Linked DNA regions of Homo sapiens: all the other regions are linked to region 6. Evidence: promoter capture Hi-C in 16 types of primary human blood cells and fetal thymus (Javierre and others, 2016). All regions are on one chromosome and are shown on one strand. Each heading gives the region's core, a stretch centred on a gene start or on the middle of the fragment in contact. The rest is flanking DNA. Distances are from core to core; before and after follow the strand shown. Region 1 has its middle 5.7 kb from the start of LRRC8B. Region 2 overlaps LRRC8B (leucine rich repeat containing 8 VRAC subunit B). Region 3 overlaps LRRC8C (leucine rich repeat containing 8 VRAC subunit C). Region 4 has its middle 23 kb from the start of LRRC8B. Region 5 has its middle 10 kb from the start of LRRC8C-DT. Region 6 holds the start of ZNF326 (zinc finger protein 326). Region 7 has its middle 29 kb from the start of LRRC8C-DT.

Region 1 (2,700 bases), core at 23-2,522, 480 kb before region 6:
AGAATTCTGAAACATCTTATATAGTCCAGGATAGATATAAAAACACATTGAAAAAAGAAACTCCTATCTAGACTATTAATGGCTTGCCCCAGGTCTCATGGCCAACAGAGCCACCAGTTGAATCCAAGAGAAGACCCCATGTCCAGTGCTCTTTCTAGCATACATCTTTTCCTTTCTAGCTCTATCAAATTCTGAATCTTGTTCTTTTATAACTTATTTTGAGTTTTTGCAAATTCTTAATAAGCCACAGACATATATCAGCTCCTACTCTTAGAGAATCAATTTGAGAATGAAATCTAGTGTTCTAATGTATTATAATTAACAGATGGTTTTATATTAGGCTGAGAACGTAAAAGAAAAACCCTACAGCTGCCGAGAAAAAAAAACGGAAAATCAAGGTCTAGCTAGTGTCAGACCTGAGTTACTCCAAACCCAAGAAATGGATGCATTCAGTATGAGGAACCTCAGAAGGCCAGCTGCTTTCACAGCACCAAGAAACCTCTGGCCCAGATTTCAACAGAGTTCAGGGAACACAGATTGAATCCTCCCAGGGATCCCAGCAAATATCTCAGTCACTAGCAGAACTCATGAGGGCTTTTTTTAGACCACTTCAAGGAGCAGAGGAGCACCAGTTCTGCTTTAATTGTGGACTTTCAGCCTGGCTTTCTTACAAATATTTTCTTGGAAGTCATTTCCTTTTTACAGATATGAAAAGGACAAGAGTCAATAACTGCCTAGCTGCTCCATGGTGGATTCCCATACGTGACCCAGATGACAGCATATATTCTTTCTTTAAAAGGGACGCATGGGAAATTTTCAAAGAAGTTTTTGGACGACTTCCCAGAAGACACATCAACTGAGGATGTCAGGCATCCCGCTGCAGGAATTGGTGTTTTTCCTAGGAGAAAGGTCTGGAAGGTCACCTTCATAGCACTTGTTTGATAAGGAAGGGCATAGTATAGTTCAGGCAGAGTGGGCAGTCACCACAGTGGGTAGTGATCAATTCTGTGTGAATTGATCCCCAATCATAGTCCCAATTTGAAATGGTCACAACTGGTTATTCTATGTTCTTGCAGTCTGTGCTCCTATTCAGCCAGTCTTGCACAATTGCAGTTTGAATTTCTAGATCAAGCTACCTTAATCTGAACACATGGGCAATATCCAACTCACCCCATCTTCAGAATTCTCACCACTGAGCTCATTCTCCAGGGTCATTCTCAGAATTTGTCCCAGGCCCAAAGAAAACTCATTTTAAATCTCTGCAACATGTCAGAAAAACACGACAAACTGCTTAACCAAAAATAAATAACTAAACATTCCTCATCAACAACAATGTGCTCAATCATACACAGCTGAACCACTGGGACTCTGGCAAACTTCCTGAGAATGCAATTTTTTTTTTTTTTGAGACAGAGTCTCGCTCTGTCGCCCAGGCTGGAGTGTAGTGGCACGATCTCTGCTCACTGCAAGCTCCAGCTCCCGGGTTCATGCCATTCTCCTGCCTCAGCCTCCCAAGTAGCCGGGACTACAGGTGCCCGCTGCCACGCCCGGCTAATTTTTTGTATATTATTTAGTAGAGACGGGGTTTCACCATGTTAGCCAGGATGGTCTCGATCTCCTGACCTTGTGATCCGCCTGCCTTGGCCCCTCAAAGTGCTGGGATTACAGGCGTGAGCCACCGCGCCCAGCCAAGAATGCAAAATTATGGGTGGCCTTGATTCATAGACTTTGGTTCTTTTCTTCTGATCTGACACTTCATTAGAACAAACTTGATCCACGATGCTGAGACAAAATTTAAACACCATGGCTAGGCATGGTAGCTCACGCCTATAATCGCAGCACTTTGGGAGGCTGAGGCAGGTGGATTGCTTGGGCTTAGGAGTTCGAGACCACCCTGGCCAACACAGCAAAACCCTGTCTCTACCAAAAATACAAAAATTAGCCAAGTATGGTGGCAAGCGCCTGTGATCCCAGCTACCCGGGAGGCTGAGGTGGCAGGATCACTGGAGACCAGGAAGTTGAGGCTGCAGTGGGCCATGATTATGCCACTACACACTAGCCTTGGTGACAGAGCAAGATTCCATCTCAAAAAACAAAAAAAAAAGTTAAAAAATAAAATGTATATCATTAAAGAAACATTTTAATTTAGAACCCTGAAGGTAAACTTCCTCAGATCTCTGTTCAGTGTGATTCTCCCTCAGTCCTGCACCAACCTCAACTCCCCTGTAGGAGGCTGTGTTCTCTATGGTTATGCCTTCCCCACCAGAGTACAATATATTTAAGAAGAGGAATTACTATATTTATCTTGGTATTCTCCCTCACCTCTGTCAGGTCCTCAGTGCTTTTTTTATGTGTTGTAGGCATTCAATGTTTACTTAATAGATATAAATTCAATGTTTAATACATTTATTTCTTTAAAGAAATAGAAGATTTTCATTCTCATATTTTTCAAACACTGAATCGAAAAAAAACTTTAGTATTGGATAAGATTGTCTTCCATTTATCATAAAAATTTTCTCAAGACTCAGAGAAAATCAAACTCTTATCAAGGTGGCCACATGGAGCATAGCTTAATGTTGATGACACTCAGAGATTTTCTTTAAATTTTGGTTGTTTTTCAGGGAATCAGCCCAGAAGACACCTGCCAAACCCAGGAGTTAGGTGGTTATTTCATGTGGGTCATGGAATTCAACCACCAGA
Region 2 (2,700 bases), core at 116-2,615, 410 kb before region 6:
CCGGCAAACAGTCATTGCCCTACCCACAGCCAGGTTTGGAGTCAGCTGGCATAGAAAGCCCAACTTCCAGTGTCCTGGACAAGAAGGAGGGTGAACAGGCCAAAGCCATCTTTGAAAAAGTGAAAAGATTCCGCATGCATGTGGAGCAGAAGGACATCATTTATAGAGTATATCTGAAACAGATAATAGTCAAAGTCATTTTGTTTGTGCTCATCATAACTTATGTTCCATATTTTTTAACCCACATCACTCTTGAAATCGACTGTTCAGTTGATGTGCAGGCTTTTACAGGATATAAGCGCTACCAGTGTGTCTATTCCTTGGCAGAAATCTTTAAGGTCCTGGCTTCATTTTATGTCATTTTGGTTATACTTTATGGTCTGACCTCTTCCTACAGCCTGTGGTGGATGCTGAGGAGTTCCCTGAAGCAATATTCCTTTGAGGCGTTAAGAGAAAAAAGCAACTACAGTGACATCCCTGATGTCAAGAATGACTTTGCCTTCATCCTTCATCTGGCTGATCAGTATGATCCTCTTTATTCCAAACGCTTCTCCATATTCCTATCAGAGGTCAGTGAGAACAAACTGAAACAGATCAACCTCAATAATGAATGGACAGTTGAGAAACTGAAAAGTAAGCTTGTGAAAAATGCCCAGGACAAGATAGAACTGCATCTTTTTATGCTCAACGGTCTTCCAGACAATGTCTTTGAGTTAACTGAAATGGAAGTGCTAAGCCTGGAGCTTATCCCAGAGGTGAAGCTGCCCTCTGCAGTCTCACAGCTGGTCAACCTCAAGGAGCTTCGTGTGTACCATTCATCTCTGGTCGTAGACCATCCTGCACTGGCCTTTCTAGAGGAGAATTTAAAAATCCTCCGCCTGAAATTTACTGAAATGGGAAAAATCCCACGCTGGGTATTTCACCTCAAGAATCTCAAGGAACTTTATCTTTCGGGCTGTGTTCTCCCTGAACAGTTGAGTACTATGCAGTTGGAGGGCTTTCAGGACTTAAAAAATCTAAGGACCCTGTACTTGAAGAGCAGCCTCTCCCGGATCCCACAAGTTGTTACAGACCTCCTGCCTTCATTGCAGAAACTGTCCCTTGATAATGAGGGAAGCAAACTGGTTGTGTTGAACAACTTGAAAAAGATGGTCAATCTGAAAAGCCTAGAACTGATCAGCTGTGACCTGGAACGCATCCCACATTCCATTTTCAGCCTGAATAATTTGCATGAGTTAGACCTAAGGGAAAATAACCTTAAAACTGTGGAAGAGATCATTAGCTTTCAGCATCTTCAGAATCTTTCCTGCTTAAAGTTGTGGCACAATAACATTGCTTATATTCCTGCACAGATTGGGGCATTATCTAACCTAGAGCAGCTCTCTTTGGACCATAATAATATTGAGAATCTGCCCTTGCAGCTTTTCCTATGCACTAAACTACATTATTTGGATCTAAGCTATAACCACTTGACCTTCATTCCAGAAGAAATCCAGTATCTGAGTAATTTGCAGTACTTTGCTGTGACCAACAACAATGTAAGTAAATCCATTCTTTCTTTTATTCAGTATCTGCCGTACTTATAGTGCATTACATAGGGAAAGAAAACACACTTCAAATCATACTGTGTGTTCTCAAGCCAAGCCCAATCCGATCTTGCATAAATTACCAAAACACTGAGCATCCATTTTTAACCTAAATTACAAGTCATCGTGGAGATTTTATGAAAAAACATAAAAGCATTTGGCACAGTTCCTGGCACATAATAGTTGCTCAGCAAATGTTTTTCTCTTTGTTTTTTTCCCAGTTTTCTACATAAACATCACAAAGTATTTTAAACTATTTAATTCATTATGGTAGAGCTTACTTTTTGTTTTATAAAGGTTTTAGGTATTTAGGGAGTTTGGCAAAACTTTTCAGCTTTCCAAATCTGTCATAATAAAATAACTTCTTGTTCTAAAATGCTGGGATTATGAATTATTCATAAATCCTTTTTGTGATGTGGTGAAAAAGATTTGAAATCTGCATGCATGTCTAGAAAGATGATTCAAAATGAAAGGCCTGCCTCTATAATGCAACACTACAGCTTCTTAGAAGCTTTTTCCAGGATCCATGCTTTAGAATGAACCAAATTTGCAATAGTAAAACCAAATTAAAGAAAACTTAACTTTACCAAACCATGAAAAAACAAAATAAATGAGTAGTTTCCTAGGTTAAGATATGGAGGAGGAGGAAAAAGGAAAAATTCACTGTAGTCTAAAGGCAAGAGAGTGAGGCTAATGTCCATTTGGGAAGAAAGAGGGAAAACCTGGTCAGAAATCAAATCTACCAAGGGATGAAACTGACATTCCTCTACTTGAAAATGGGTACAGCTATTCCACCACACTTCAAAATATATTATCCAAAAATTAGCTGCGCGTGGTGGCACGGACCTGAAGTCCCAGCTACTCAGGAGCCTGAGGCAGGAGAATCGCTTGAACCCGGGAGGTGGAGTTGCAGTGAGCCGAGATTCCACCACTCAAGCACTCAAGCCTGGTAACAGAGCGAGACTCTGTCTCAAAAAAAAAAGAAAGAAAGAAAGAAAGAAAATGTATTATCTTTTAGACTTTTTGTAGTTCATATGTCATGGTAAATATAGCTATGAGCATGGTGTTGGCTAATAAACATATTAATCATACATTATTTTTGAAAAACATGGGT
Region 3 (2,700 bases), core at 38-2,537, 340 kb before region 6:
CTTCCACACTTACATCCCTCCAATATCAAATACTGCTCTGATTTCACCCTGGGGGAGGAGTCCTGTTTTAACTCCAACCCCAAGTTCAACCACTTCTTAGAGCTCAAACAGCTCTCCAAGCTCTCAACTTAGATGGCAAGTCATTTTAAGCCCAGTAGAATGGGAGTCCCTTCAGATGGCCATTAGACATTGACATTCAAGTGCTCAAATTGCCATATCTCAGAAAAAAAATAATCCAGTGATCAAGAAGCATAACACAGTGGGTAACAATAGCATATATGCCATGAAGTACCTTGATCCAGAGGCTGACAATAACTGTTTCTCTTGAGGTGAGCAGGTCTCCAAGGGAGTTCTGAGAACCATTGCAACAGGAATTGACAAGCTGTGGCCCATGCATTTTGAGTTAGTGCAAACTGTTTTGGTATGGCCCACTTGCTGAGATTGGCTTTTCTATTTTTAAAGGATTGTTTAAATTTTTTAAAAAGAATATGCAACATAGGCCAGGCATAGTGGCTCACGCCTGTAATCCCAACACTTTGGGAGGCCAAGGTGGGCAGATCACGAGGTCAGGAGATCGAGACCATCCTGGCTAACACGGTGAAACCCTGTCTCTGCTGAAAGTACAAAAAATTAGCCGGGCATGGTGGCGGGCGCCTCTACTCCCAGCTACTCGGGAGGCTGAGGCAGGAGAATGGCATGAACCTGGGAGGTGGAGCTTACAGTGAGCTGAGATCGCGCCACTGCACTCCAGTCTCGGTGACAGAGCGAGACTCTGTCTCAAAAAAAAAAAAAAAAAAAAAAAGCAACGTAGACCACATATGATTTATAAACCCTAAGTATTTGCTTTCCCTCCCTTTATAGGAAAAAGTTTATGGATCCTTGCATTTTAAAAAAGATTGACAATTTACTTGTTAGTGTATGTTAAAGCTTTGTAATAAACTTGCTGTAAGGGAGGAGTTTGTTAGTAGGCTAATTCAGAGATTTGCTCTTGATAGGGACATTTTGTAGCAAAAGAGAATTGTTAGAAAAATTACTAGATTTGACATCAAAATAAAACAATATTTTGTTAAAGGTCACTAAATTCTTGGTTGACAGCTGGTCAACTGCATGGGTCATATCTAATTTCCCAAAATAAGTCCTAGTGTCATTAAAGTTCATGAGAATCAATTACAGAAGCATTTTGTCAGGAACACTCATTTCTTTCTGAGAGGAGGTTGTAAGTAATATCACACAAACAGGTTTGGGACTATTTTTCTTTTTCAAGGCAATGTAGTATATTTTTAAAAGCATACACTGGAGTGCTGGGGTGCAGTAAAAGAAAAGTAAAACTGTAGGAATCTTTTGATGCCACACTAACTCATACCTTGTTGGAATTTAGATACACAATGAAATATGAAGATAAAACAATGGGAAAAGAATCAGAAGACCATCACAGAGTGGGTTAGAGCATTGAAAACAGGATCTATGTGGGAAAGATGAAAGGAATTGAGATATTGCTGCTAAGATGGGGTCCAGGAAAAAGTTAGTAATTATTTCCAGGGGTATGAAAAGGTCTCTGAATCTGAGGAGCAATTTTGCATCTCTTCTGAAAAGAGATAAGAGTTTAACCTGCTGCACAAAGATTTTGGTGGTTAAGAATAATAATTTTGAAGCTTCAAGTAATCAACCTTTTCACAAATTTGCATAGTGGCTGGGTCTCTGGGATATCTTAAAAATAGAACAGAGTTGGGGCTCTCTGTCATGGGTTTAGTGTGGTCTTGCCTGAAGGTTTAATCAGATAACCCCTTATGATCAGTCTTGCATTATCATTTAAGACCACACTAGGTACGAGGCTCTCAGCGGTGGATCAAAGGGAAAATAAAAGAGGACCACACTGGGTGCAGATCACCAGATCCACTGGCTTTCTAGGGGATTAAAAAGAAAGCCACTGTCCCAGAGGACTTACTCTATGACAGAAGGATAGGGTAAACAAATATACAAGTGGCAAGTTACGGGGTCGCAGTATCACAGGAGAAGGGGGAATCGTTGCAATATATAAACATCTGAAAAGGGACACAATTAAAAATACAGCTCATAAGGCAAAGATCTGGAGGAGGTGGGGAGACACAGATATCTATGGAGGAGAGGTCTGAGAATAGGGGACAGCAAATATAAATATGTTCCCCTGGCATTATGGAGGAACAGCAAGAAGGCCAGTGTGGGTGCACAGCTCTGAACAATAGGGAGAGTGGTCGTTAAGAGAGGGTGCTGTAGGCTCATGAAGTGTCTTGTCCACCTCTACTCTGAATGAGATGAGGAACCATTAGAGAGTTCTTAATCTGACTTGCGTTTTCAAAGGATCACTCTGGCTGTGGTATAGAGCAATCATTAGCCAACCTTTTGGTCTCAGGGCATTTGTACTCAAATTATTGAAAATTCCAAAGAGCTCTAACCCCTAAGAGCTCAGAAATGTAAATCTGATTATTTATTAATTTTAAAATAACAATAATGCCACTGAATGTTAACACAAGTAACATATGTTTTGAAATTATATTTTCCAAAACAAAAGAACAAAAAGATGTCAGTGTTTAAGTTTTTGCAAATGTCTTTAATGTCTGGCAATCAGTCTGTTCACTGTCATGTATCATGTAGCCTCTAGAAAGCTTCACTGTGCAGTCACAAGACAATGAATTTAAAAGGCCAATAATGTTTAGTATTCTT
Region 4 (2,700 bases), core at 139-2,638, 490 kb before region 6:
CCAGAGATTTTGAACCTTGTGATCCCTTCATAAACAGAGAACAAAGAATTATTTATATTTATGGCATTTCAAAAGTATTTGAAACTACTGAATCATACCAGTACATACTGCAATTAATAAAATATCCATGGTCTCTGATATAGAAGGGGAAACCCAGATGCCTTCAGGAACCCACCCTTTGTGTGAGGATTGAATCTCTAGAGCAGTAATAAGTGCTAATGAAGAAAACTATGATCAAAATAAATGACTTGAGTCATCATATGGTAGTTAGTTCAAATCTAAGTCAAACGTCAAACCAATCTTTGGCACTCTAAGATCCTTCCTTCTACAGGCTGGCACCATGCAACAAATAGCCCATCTGTATTGCTGGGGATAGCACCAATGAGAACTGACTTCCATTTACATAAAGACAGACTTCAATGGCTAATATGACCCTATATATAGTATGGCTTACTTATAAAAACTGAGCATTAAATATGCCGGTAGGCTATAATGCATACAATGAATCATTTTCTTACAAGCATTTTCAGTCTTTTTCAAAACGCTAAATCCACAATTTGAAAGGGCCTAAATTGCCTTAGCTTAAAGGTAGCTAACTAGAAAAGACAACCTTTTTACATGCACTAGAGTATAACAAGCTGGCCCTTTTTACTAAATATATATACATATAATTTCATTCCAAAACAAGGTTTTTTTAGTTGTACTTTTTATGGTTGGAGAAATAATTTTTTTAAGGAAGGGTAAACTTTGGAGTCATATGGGCCTTAATTCCTTAATTCTTACTAGCTGTATAGCTATGGTTACCTGTAAGCCTCTGTTTCTGATCTGCAAAATAAGGATAGGAACATCCATCTCAAAAAATTGTTCCGAGGCTAAATGGGTTGCTGAGAGAGCACTTAGGAAAGAGTCTTTAAAAACTAAGCATTAAGTAAATATTAGTGATACTTGTGTTTCTTTCTTCTACCCTCCATGTTCCAAGAGAAGAAAATATATTTTTGAAATTTAAAAAGTAATCTCACCTAAATTTAGCACCACATCCGAATGGATATATTTTTTAGGAAGCGGCTCAGATAAATACATCTGATGTATTTATCTGATGTGTAATGGTAGCAGGCACATCCCTAAAGCCAGTACACAAGTTAAGTTTTTAAAATCTAATTATTAATTATGTTTAAATCACAGTTCACAATTTAAACGAACCCTGTGAACTATCCTTGCATAGAATAAATAACCACTCCTAATTAGCCATTTTTATAATTCTGTTTGTGATCTCTATATGAATAGTTTGCTTAAAATGAGATATATCTCCACTTAGTTCTTTGTAAGCCAATAATTTTATATTCATCCATCAATGGCAGTAGACTTTGCAAAAGAGTATTCTATAATGCTTATTGGAATTCATATCTAAAAACAAACTATTATCAGGAAGAAAATAAGATTTGATTTATTCAAAATCATGAGACCATTGCTACATTTCAGTATTCCACGGACATGCCTCTCCAGGGTATGTGTGTGTTATAACATGTGCTACATATGTCACAACTATGGCAGAGCACCAAAAATTAACAAGAGGAAAAATAACATTGAATGCATCAAAAGGGCCTGGTCCCCTTTATTGAGAGGTAACTTTATCTTGACTTGTGTGGGCATTGAAGGAAAAAAAAAGGTCATTAAAGTCAAATTCACTACAAAACGAATACATCTGAAAAAGAAGCATAGAAACATTAGACATTGGTATATGCAAAGTATAGGCTAGATTGTTCTAGTTGCAATAAAAATTCAAAATAGCTGGGCACAGTCACTCATGCCTGTTATCCCAGCACTTTGGGAGGCTGAGGCAGGAAGATTGCTTTAGCCCTGTGCTCCAGACCAGCCTGGGAAACATAGTAAGACCTTGTTTCTACTAAAAATGTTTAAAACTTAGCTGAGCGTGGTGGGTGTACACCTGTAGTCCCAGCTACTTGGGAGGCTGAGGCAGGAGAATTGCTTGAGCCTGGGAAGTCAAGGCTGCAGTGAGCCGTGATCACACCACTGCACTCCAGTCTGGGAAACAGAGAGAGACCCTATCCCACACACACACACACACACACACACACACACACACACACACACAAAATCAAAATAATGATAACAGTAAACTGCAGGCTAGTATGATTTTGTAGGGAATTAAGTATCACAATTGGTCATCTAGCAGCAGATACCAATCATTAATACCACTGCTTCTCACGTCAGCTTAAGCCAGTTGTGATCTGAATCTATTTCCACTGGTACAGATAAAGAATCACTTCCTAAGGAGAATTTAGTTGTCAGCTCTTCTAGAATCTGTTCTAAAAAAAATCTTAAACAAAGATTGAAATGCCATCTGCTAAAAAATATTCTGGCATAACAAATTTAAACAATGTGAAAGCCAGAGATTAAAAATGTAGCTCAATCACATTACCATTCTTTGGCTGGCAATGAGAAAGCAGATGTTATAGGAAACTGAAAAGTATTCCATTTGAGCATAATAGGTCTCAAATGTCCTTGTTATAACTCCCAAAATATTCATATTCCAATGGGGTCTTTGTGATTTTGTTGTTGGAGTTATTAACTTGTCAGATTGCTCTGGTTTTTCTGGGTCTAAAATCATACATTCTGTTTTAGGAGAATAGACGATTATCGTTTTATGATTAAAATCACCACTTTCAAATATTTCTATGA
Region 5 (2,700 bases), core at 181-2,680, 370 kb before region 6:
ATTTTGGAGTTTTGAGAGGCTAGGCAGCAATCTATAAAGGTTGCTTATTAAATGATTTCCTCATCATCCTAAGAAATAATCATAAAAGAGTTTAAAAATTCCTTTTGGCCAGGCGCGGTGGCTCACGCCTGTAATCCCAACACTTTGGGAGGCCAAGGCGGGCAGATCATGAGGTCAGGAGATCGAGATCATCCTGGCTAACATGGTGAAACCCCGTCTCTACTAAAAAAAAAAAAAAAAAAAAAAATTAGCCAGGCGTGGTGGCAGGCGCCTGTAGTCCCAGCTACTCAGGAGGCTGAGGCAGGAGAATGGCGTGAACCCAGGAGGCGGAGCTTGCAGCGAGCCGAGATCGCCACTGCACTCCAGCCTGGGCGACAGAGCGAGACACCATCTCAAAAAAAAATTCCTTTCCCCTTAAAGCACTCAGAAGTCTTGCACCACTCCTCACCTCACCCTCCTTGGGAAACTGGAGAGGCTGAGCTGCCAGTCTGATCTGAGGAAAAGTATTGTGATGTGACTTGTAGCCTAGGCAGCATCACAATGTGCCCACCTGGGGAACCTGGAAATTGGGCAGTTTGGGGCTGGCAGTAATAGTCTTTATAATCATGAAAAATGGAAACATCTCCAGGTAGAGAATTAGTAACTTTTAAAATATTGTTGCTCTTTCCTCCCTCTTTGGATATAGACTTAAAGACACTCAACATCTCTTGGTATTTGTTTTAGGTTACTAAATGATTTTTCAAATGCATCTATGTTAGGAGTCTGGGATACAGCAAAACCTTATGTGAAACATTTCCAAGTGGCATAACTAGAATGTCTCCCTACTCAAAATGGGCTATACGGTATCTTTTTTTCTCAGTCAACATGGGCTGATGCATACCAATTCACCCTTAATGGTCCTGAAATATATTCACTGTAGAGAAATGAAGATCAAAAACATCGTATATGTGAAGATAATTAGGTATGAAACTCCAGATAAGCAAGACTGTTTATTTTTGTTTAGCACTCTAGGGGGAAAAAATGACATTTTCCAGCAGTTTAAAATACTGTGATGTTTTAAGATAGAAAGGGCGTGATAAGAGTGTGGGCTTTCAAGTCAAGCTGTCCGGGTTATACTCCTGGCTGTGCCACTTACTAGCAGCATGAGGCTAGGCAAGTGACATTAGCTGTATGTGCCTCAGACTCCCTATCTGTGAAATGGGAATAGTAAGATTACCTGTTATCCTGTTGTTACATGGATGAAATGAAATCATACATGTAAAATTTTTTTTTTTTTTTGAGATGGAGTCCCGCTCTGTCGCCCAGGCTGGAGTGCAGTGGCGCGATCTCGGCTCACTGCAAGCTCCGCCTCCTGGGTTCACGCCATTCTCCTGCCTCAGCCTCCCGAGTAGCTGGGACTACAGGCGCCCGCCAACACTCCTGGCTAATTTTTTTGTATTTTTAGTAGAGACGGGGTTTCACTGTGTTAGCCAGGATAGTCTCGATCTCCTGACCTTGCGATCCGCCCGCCTCGGCCTCCCAAAGTGCTGGGATTACAGGGGTGAGCCACCGCGCCTGGCCTACATGTGAAATCTTTAACATCATGCCTGACGTAGAGTAAATCCTCAGCAAATGTTAATCAGCTACCTTGTCTGTATCATTCAAATCACTGCAGCAAGTTGTCAGCCTACAACTTGCTTGTCATCTTACAAATGTGCAGACCTGGTTGCTCTTAAATCAATACTGTTATACTTTAAAGTCTCTGATAATTTTTCAATCAGAAAGTGTTTGTTTCAAAGCAAATGATCAGATATATTATTATAGAAGGTATAATTTTGAATTTTGGTTAAGCCAATAAAATGAACAATTAATATAAAATGGTATCAGATCAGATATAAATAGCTATTATCTGGAGCATTTTACAAGCTAAAGAATATTCGAGACACTTAAGAGATCAGAGATGTTTTCAGTCTCCTAAATGAGACCATAAGCTGTTTTCATGTTGTGGTTAAATGCTCCTCCTTTTGGTCACTGGAAGCAGTTCATCTTATCTGAACCCTAGTGTTTTCATTTTGGAAGCTATCAACGCAACTAACTCAGACACACACACACACACACACACACACACACATGCGCACACACACACACATTCTTTAATGTAACATGGTAATTCCTTTTCACTGAGAATTGATTTTTAAATAATTTTTCAAAATAAAATAGAATATAAAATATTGTCTCATCATTGTAATGAAATGTTATCATGCTGGACTTTAAATTAATGGTGTCTTTTCTTTGAAATTCCTTAATCAGAGTACATCACTTCTAATAGCTCTCTATTGAATCTTCCTCAGAAACAAGGATGGAAGGCTATCATAAATGCCACAAGAGAGGCTGGGCACAGTGGCTCACGCCTGTAATCCCAGCACTTTGGGAGGCTGAAGTGGGCAGATCACAAGGTCAGGAGATCAAGACCATCCTGGCTAACACAGTGAAATCCCGTCTCTACTAAAAATACAAAAAATTAGCCGGGCATGGTGGCATGTGCCTGTAGTCCCAGCTACTGGGAAGGCTGAGGCAAGAGAATTGCTTGAACCTAGGAGGCAGAGGTTACAGTGAGCCGAGATCGTGCCACTGCACTCCAGCCTGGGCAACAGAGCTAGACTCCATCTCAAAAAAAAAAGAAAAATGCCACAACAGGCCTAGAAAAGCATTCATAGGAGA
Region 6 (2,700 bases), core at 148-2,647:
ACGCTTCATTTCGGCCTGGCGCCGCTCACCAGGCCTCTCAGCTGGGGCCTCTACCGACCGGCGGGTGTTGCAGTACAGGTCGTGTTCAGCGTTCACGTAGCTGTTCAGGCGCTCCGCATCCAGCTGTTGCCGCCGCAGTAGTTCTTCTCTGTGCCTCTCTGTCTCTGCAAAGTACTGGCGGAGCTCTTCGGTGATTTCCATATTGCTCAGGTCACATGCTACCTCTGCATCTGACTCGGTCTCCATCTCTTCCTCCTTGGATAAGGCTTGGTCTTCTCTTGTGGATGCCTGGATCCTACTGCTGCCATGTGGATGTTGCCCAGACCCTCTGAAATGTGAAGAACTGCAGGGGGAGTCCTGCTAGGCCACATGATGGTCATAGAAGGACTGAGGATACGCAGCCTGGTTATCGTAAGAGCTTTGGGGAAGAAGCGCAGGAAGGAAGAACCATGGAAGACTGAAACAGGATTCCACCGCCTTCCTGTAGGCATTGTGGTGGCTTTGCATCCAAGCCATTGCTTGATGATAATGTTGCCAGTATCTTGCATATACTGGATGAGAATACCAAGGCCTGGTAGCTTTTGATGTTGATGCCTTCACCACTGCCATCTCCGATTGTGAAAGTCCAAATGGGTGCCGAAACTTGTGGGCGCGCAGCTTGCAGATCCTGGGCGGTGGCCAAGCAGGCCATGTTTTAGAATTCTTTCCAGGCGGGTCGCATTGGCTCACGCCTGTGATCCTAACACTTTGGGAGGCGGAGACGGGGCTGGGGGTGGGGGGATCGCTTGAGTCCAGGAGTTGGAGACCTGCTTGGGCAACATGGCAAAACCCCCATCTCTATAAAAATAATTTAAAAATTTTTTAAAAGAATTATTATTTCCATTTTATTTCAGTGCTTTGTCCTTTAAGAAAATTTATTGACATAGCGATAATCAGACTCCATACGCTATTTTGTATCTTGCTTTTCAAATTTGCCACAGGCTTCTAGAAACGTCCCAGACTTCTGTGTCTCCATGGAGGAAACCCCGTAAGTACTTACAAATGTTATGATTAGTCATCCCTAGCCAATACTAAGCAAAAGGTAGGCATGCGGTTTTATTAGTTTGGGCAGGAAGAAGGCATTCCAACCGGCTTCTTTCGCTCTTGCCAGGTTCAAACATGGCGGGCCGCAGCCGGCCCTTCCCGTACACTCGGCTTGCTTTCCCACAACCCCCGCCAATCTTTAGCGCTCCTTTTTTACCTTCCTTCCCCGTCAGCGGCTCCAGAGGGTCAGCACCTCCGAGCGTGACAGCGGACCTGCTTCCCGCCCCCCACGCGAGGGCCCGCCCACCAGCCCGCGTCAGCCAATAGCAGGCCGCGCCGATGGGGCTGGTAGCGCCGGTCGGCCCCGCCTCCCCAGCCTCGCTGTGGCCTGCGGCTCCCGGGCTGGTAGCGCGCCGCTCTCGGTCGCGCGGAGTGATCGTGTGGAATCGCGGGTCGCGGACGCTCGCCGCCGGCCATAGCTCAGCCTAGCGCCGCCAAGGCCGACGGCCCTCAGCCTCTGCCATGGACTTCGAGGACGGTAAGCGCTGCCTCTGGCTGGTCGGCGCAGCTGGCAGGAGGCGGGGTGGCCTACGCAGGGGGTCTGTTTACCGTCTCAAGATGGCCGTGTGGGCTTTGTTCTGCGGGCCCGGAGGCCGCCCGCCCGCCCCGGGCCCAGCGCCCGGAGTCGGCCTCTTTGGGGACCCACGCGCCCCGATTCGGCCCGCTCGGCGCCCGCTGCCGGCGGAGACAAGAGAACTCGGTGTCCGGTAGGACGCGCCTAGAGCGCGAGAGCCTCCGGGCTGGAGCCCCAGACTCGCCTTGGCCCCTGGTAGTGGAAATTGCCCCGACGTCTCCAACTTCCCGGTCTCGGGCAAACGGGCGAGTGCGGCCTCACCCACCTAGTCTCGCATTCGCCCCACAGGGCAGCGACCCAGACCGTCCGTTTAGTTAATCCTCAGCCTCGGGTTACTTCTTGCCAGATAGAATTTTCAGAGGCTTGTTCACAGTGATGTTTCTGTTTGTCCCGGTTTAAGATGAGTTGAAAGGGTGTCTGTAAGTGATATGTATAGATAAATATCTATGCAAAATGGAAAGCAAGATGTTTCCTGGTTAGTAAACTGGGGTGTTTATCACCAAAAATTACCTGCTTATTAATCCCTAACTTGAAATATTTATGTGAACCAAAGCACTTTTCTTTGGATCGTGTGTAGGTAGGATTTAAGTTAATCAGAATTTTGGCACAGCAAGCATCAAATGTCCTTCACATTTAGACCTGTACACAGCCTTGTAAGTGTTTGACTTACGGATTAAATAAACTGTATTTTAGCAATACTTTTCAGTTGTCTCAGATACTAATTCTTTAAACCACTTTTACAGGGTCACAAAGTAATATTAATTTGGTCTTCACTTTTGTTTTCAAACCTTGCTTGGAATTGGTGTCAAGATAAAGTGGTATGTAGTGACAACATTAGGGAGACATGGGAAAGGACTTATGTGATTAAACTGGATTTAATCCTGAGTAACCAGGCATGCTTAAGTAAAACCAGTTCACTAAGTAGGCTGTAAACTTTTAACCCCACCAAAAAAATGATCTTTAAATGAGGTGTGATCTCAGCATATGTCTTACTCGATGAGCTTTTGATTTTTCATAACATTTCATGCAACAAAGAATTAAAG
Region 7 (2,716 bases), core at 48-2,547, 390 kb before region 6:
ATTATTTTGAAAGTGCATAGTTTATATTTTAATGTTTTAACCTAAATCTACATTTGCTGTCATTAGAAGAATGGAGTGTCATGCTGGATTTCTGACCCTGTGGGTGATGTTGGATAATGACCCCAACCTCTTAAAAAGAGTTGTTAACATTTAGTGTTTTTTGTTTCAGTTTGCAAATGAGGCTCACGTCAGTTTGGGTTTTATTAGAGAATGGAAGTTCCAGTTTAACTCCCTGAGAGTGCTGATTTATTATAGGAAAATGCTGGCAAACATTTTAGACTTACAAAATGACTTCTAATCACAGTTCAGGCTAAATTTGTTCTTCTGCTGATTTAGAATGTTGGAGAGTGAGAAGAGTGAGGAGGAGGGACAAGTTAGGCTGTCCTTATTGAATTCATGCCACGTTCCAGATAAGAAGCTGCCTTCCTTGCCCTGGAAGATGCTGTGACCCTGGCTTTGCCTTCTGGCTGAATGCACTACGAAGCAGGAAGAAAGCTTCAACCCCAGCTCTAACAATCCACTGCCATTTAACACTGGTTCACTTGGCATTTCCCCTGAGGTTCTTCAAAACGCTAGCCCTTTGAAATGTTTGTCATGTCAGGTCCACGTGAGTCACCTGCTCAGGTGTCCCCAAGGCCCGTTACACAGTGGGACTGTGGCTCTAAGGGGTCCCAGGCCCTCTCCACTGAGCTCTTCTATGAAAGGAAGATGACTTACCAAACGACCTTACTGGGACTTTGCACTATTTTTAAATTTTCTTCTAGAAGATGAAAGAAATTAGCTCTTCTCCCTTTTTCTTTCTCTCTGGTAGTGAGTATAATAATTTCTCCTGATGAACAGAGTGTCCATGGAGAATTTTTTCATGCTGGAAATAAGGCAGATGGCTTGGGTGTTGTCTCAGATCATCAGTAAAGGCCCCAGCTAAGTTAATGACTAGAAGGGCCTGGAAGAAATTAACATGCTTCTCAGGGTAAGCTGTGGCTTGGGGAAGTTGGTGAGGATGCTGGAGGATGTCTGACAGAGGGAGAGAAAATAGGGTTCTTTTGACTTCTGGGCTTCAGCACTAGCCCTCGTGATCCTGCCATTTCCAGTGTGATCTGCAGTGTGATCTGCATGCACAGGGTAGCAGCCTAACTGAGCCTTGTGAGTGGGTGGGCTTGGATGCTCGCTAGCTGGCCTTCCAACTCCAATATTCTGATCTACATAAAATGCTGAGTGAGTGGGAAGTGTTGATCATGTTTAATACTGAGTAATTTTCTTAAGAACTTGAGTATGTCATACATTTCTTTTTTCAGCTTTGGAAATGATTCACTTTTATGACACATGAATAAGACTTTTATTCACTAAAGAACCTCAAGCATAATAGCAAGTGAAGGAGGATGGAATTATCTTAAAGGGCTGTTCTGCAGTGCCTCCCCGTCAGGAGAGCCAAGTAGACAGTGAAGAGAAGCTATTTAGGGCAGTACAGTTAGAAACATTCCCAGCAGGGCCTTCACAATGCTCAGGTTACAATTCCCAGTTAAGAGAAATGTCCTGAGGTTGCACAGGTATAAAGGTGACCTGTGAGGTACTTGGCTGTCTTGGGCTTTAACACCAAAATTTGAAAGCTGAGGCTGACCCTTTATCACTGGCTTTCCTCCCAGAGTCTGACCTAGGGCAAATAGATGCCTGACAGTTTTAAGTTCTCCAGTTTCTGTTCAGCTGAGACCTGAGTGTCAGGTCAGCTAACAGGCTCCCCGTTGGAGAAACATGACTCTAGGTTTCAGTGCACTGAGAGATGTTAACTTCTGCCTGGTCTTAGGGTACAGCCCCACCTGGGTGCCAGCTCCAAGGGCAGACTATGCGCTCACCAGGTTCATCTGATAATGCAGTGGGCAGACATAGCTATGTGCTGTTCACTTGCTCTGTGCCCTCATGCCCAGTCTAAGACTGTCCAAGGCCCGGCCTAGTCTCTGCTTTATCTGGAAGAAGACAAGAGCATTTTCCTGGACTGACAGCCCAGAAGGTACTCATCTCCAACCTGGATCAGAGCCCTATTTTCACCAGTAACTCTTGAGTCATCTTGTACCTCTGAGCCTCAGCTTCCTCGTCTGTAAAATGTAAGCTTTATTTTATAAATATTGAGTGTCTGCTACTTACCCAGATGCTGCCTAAGGTATTGTGAATACAGTGGGGGACAGCAGGGACAAATAAGACCCACTCCTCATAGAAACAAACCTCATAAGATCTTAAGAGGATTCCACGAGATAATATGTGTAAAATGTTAGCATCTTGTCTGACCCTAGTGGTTGCTTTCTACGTTAGCTTTAATGAGTTTTCCTCCAAAGATGATAGAAAATATTTCAAAGTATGTCCTTTCCTGCCTTGGTCTGTGCACATGCATTTCTGCCAAAAAGGCTCTTCCTTAATTCCTATGCCTAGCTAACTCCTGTTCATCCAGTTCTCAGTATAAATGGTCACTTCTTCAAGGTGGCATTTTTCTGACCAGTCCATCCTTAGATCCCCCTGTTGTTTGTTCCCAGGGCAACTGGTACTATACTTTGAGGTATCCATCCTCTTGATAACTATGACTTATTTAGTGTCTGTTTCCCTGACTAGACTGTAAAGCTAGTGTAAACAGCATCCATGTTCACCAGAAATCTTGATGCTGAGCTTTGAGATTCTGCATAAACATCTGACCATCTTGCTGATATTTGAAGGGAATGTTCCCTTTCAC

The links. Contacts are between HindIII fragments. The CHiCAGO score rates a contact against its expected background, and 5 or more counts as called.
Region 1: a contact is called between a fragment that was not itself captured here and the fragment with the promoter of ZNF326 in region 6, in 14 of 17 cell types (non-activated CD4 T cells, total B cells, naive CD4 T cells and 11 more). The highest score is 14.4, in non-activated CD4 T cells.
Region 2: a contact is called between a fragment that was not itself captured here and the fragment with the promoter of ZNF326 in region 6, in 1 of 17 cell types (naive CD8 T cells). The highest score is 5.5, in naive CD8 T cells.
Region 3: a contact is called between a fragment that was not itself captured here and the fragment with the promoter of ZNF326 in region 6, in 2 of 17 cell types (erythroblasts and megakaryocytes). The highest score is 5.5, in erythroblasts.
Region 4: a fragment that was not itself captured here is called in contact with the fragment with the promoter of ZNF326 in region 6 in 3 of 17 cell types (non-activated CD4 T cells, naive CD8 T cells and total CD4 T cells); the score reaches 6.8 in non-activated CD4 T cells.
Region 5: a contact is called between a fragment that was not itself captured here and the fragment with the promoter of ZNF326 in region 6, in 8 of 17 cell types (naive B cells, total CD4 T cells, megakaryocytes and 5 more). The highest score is 6.3, in naive B cells.
Region 7: a fragment that was not itself captured here is called in contact with the fragment with the promoter of ZNF326 in region 6 in 12 of 17 cell types (fetal thymus, naive B cells, total B cells and 9 more); the score reaches 9.2 in fetal thymus.

The regions. Positions count from the first base shown.
Region 1 is chr1:89,517,759-89,520,458 of GRCh38, forward strand. No RefSeq gene overlaps it. Among named protein-coding and RNA genes, the nearest start is that of LRRC8B, 5.7 kb to the right of the region's middle. The HindIII fragment of the contact is 3,959 bases long and covers 1-2,700 here.
Region 2 is chr1:89,583,252-89,585,951 of GRCh38, forward strand. It overlaps LRRC8B (leucine rich repeat containing 8 VRAC subunit B), which reads left to right. Exons shown (of 6, transcript NM_001369817.2): 5 at 1-1,538. Among named protein-coding and RNA genes, the nearest start is that of LRRC8C-DT, 48 kb to the right of the region's middle. The HindIII fragment of the contact is 1,459 bases long and covers 637-2,095 here.
Region 3 is chr1:89,650,789-89,653,488 of GRCh38, forward strand. The region is part of intron 1 of LRRC8C (leucine rich repeat containing 8 VRAC subunit C); the gene reads left to right. Among named protein-coding and RNA genes, the nearest start is that of LRRC8C, 19 kb to the left of the region's middle. The HindIII fragment of the contact is 725 bases long and covers 926-1,650 here.
Region 4 is chr1:89,500,698-89,503,397 of GRCh38, forward strand. No RefSeq gene overlaps it. Among named protein-coding and RNA genes, the nearest start is that of LRRC8B, 23 kb to the right of the region's middle. The HindIII fragment of the contact is 5,382 bases long and covers 1-2,700 here.
Region 5 is chr1:89,621,073-89,623,772 of GRCh38, forward strand. It overlaps a transcript of LRRC8C not described here. Among named protein-coding and RNA genes, the nearest start is that of LRRC8C-DT, 10 kb to the right of the region's middle. RefSeq lists a silencer at 1,858-2,152. The HindIII fragment of the contact is 8,438 bases long and covers 1-2,700 here.
Region 6 is chr1:89,993,713-89,996,412 of GRCh38, forward strand. ZNF326 (zinc finger protein 326) reads left to right here and starts at 1,398. Exons shown (of 12, transcript NM_182976.4): 1 at 1,398-1,561. The coding sequence starts at 1,546. It also overlaps the pseudogene GEMIN8P4. RefSeq lists enhancers at 1,050-1,616, 1,617-2,182, 2,064-2,113 and a silencer at 1,204-1,843. The HindIII fragment of the contact is 7,808 bases long and covers 1-2,698 here.
Region 7 is chr1:89,602,618-89,605,333 of GRCh38, forward strand. No RefSeq gene overlaps it. Among named protein-coding and RNA genes, the nearest start is that of LRRC8C-DT, 29 kb to the right of the region's middle. The HindIII fragment of the contact is 1,609 bases long and covers 494-2,102 here.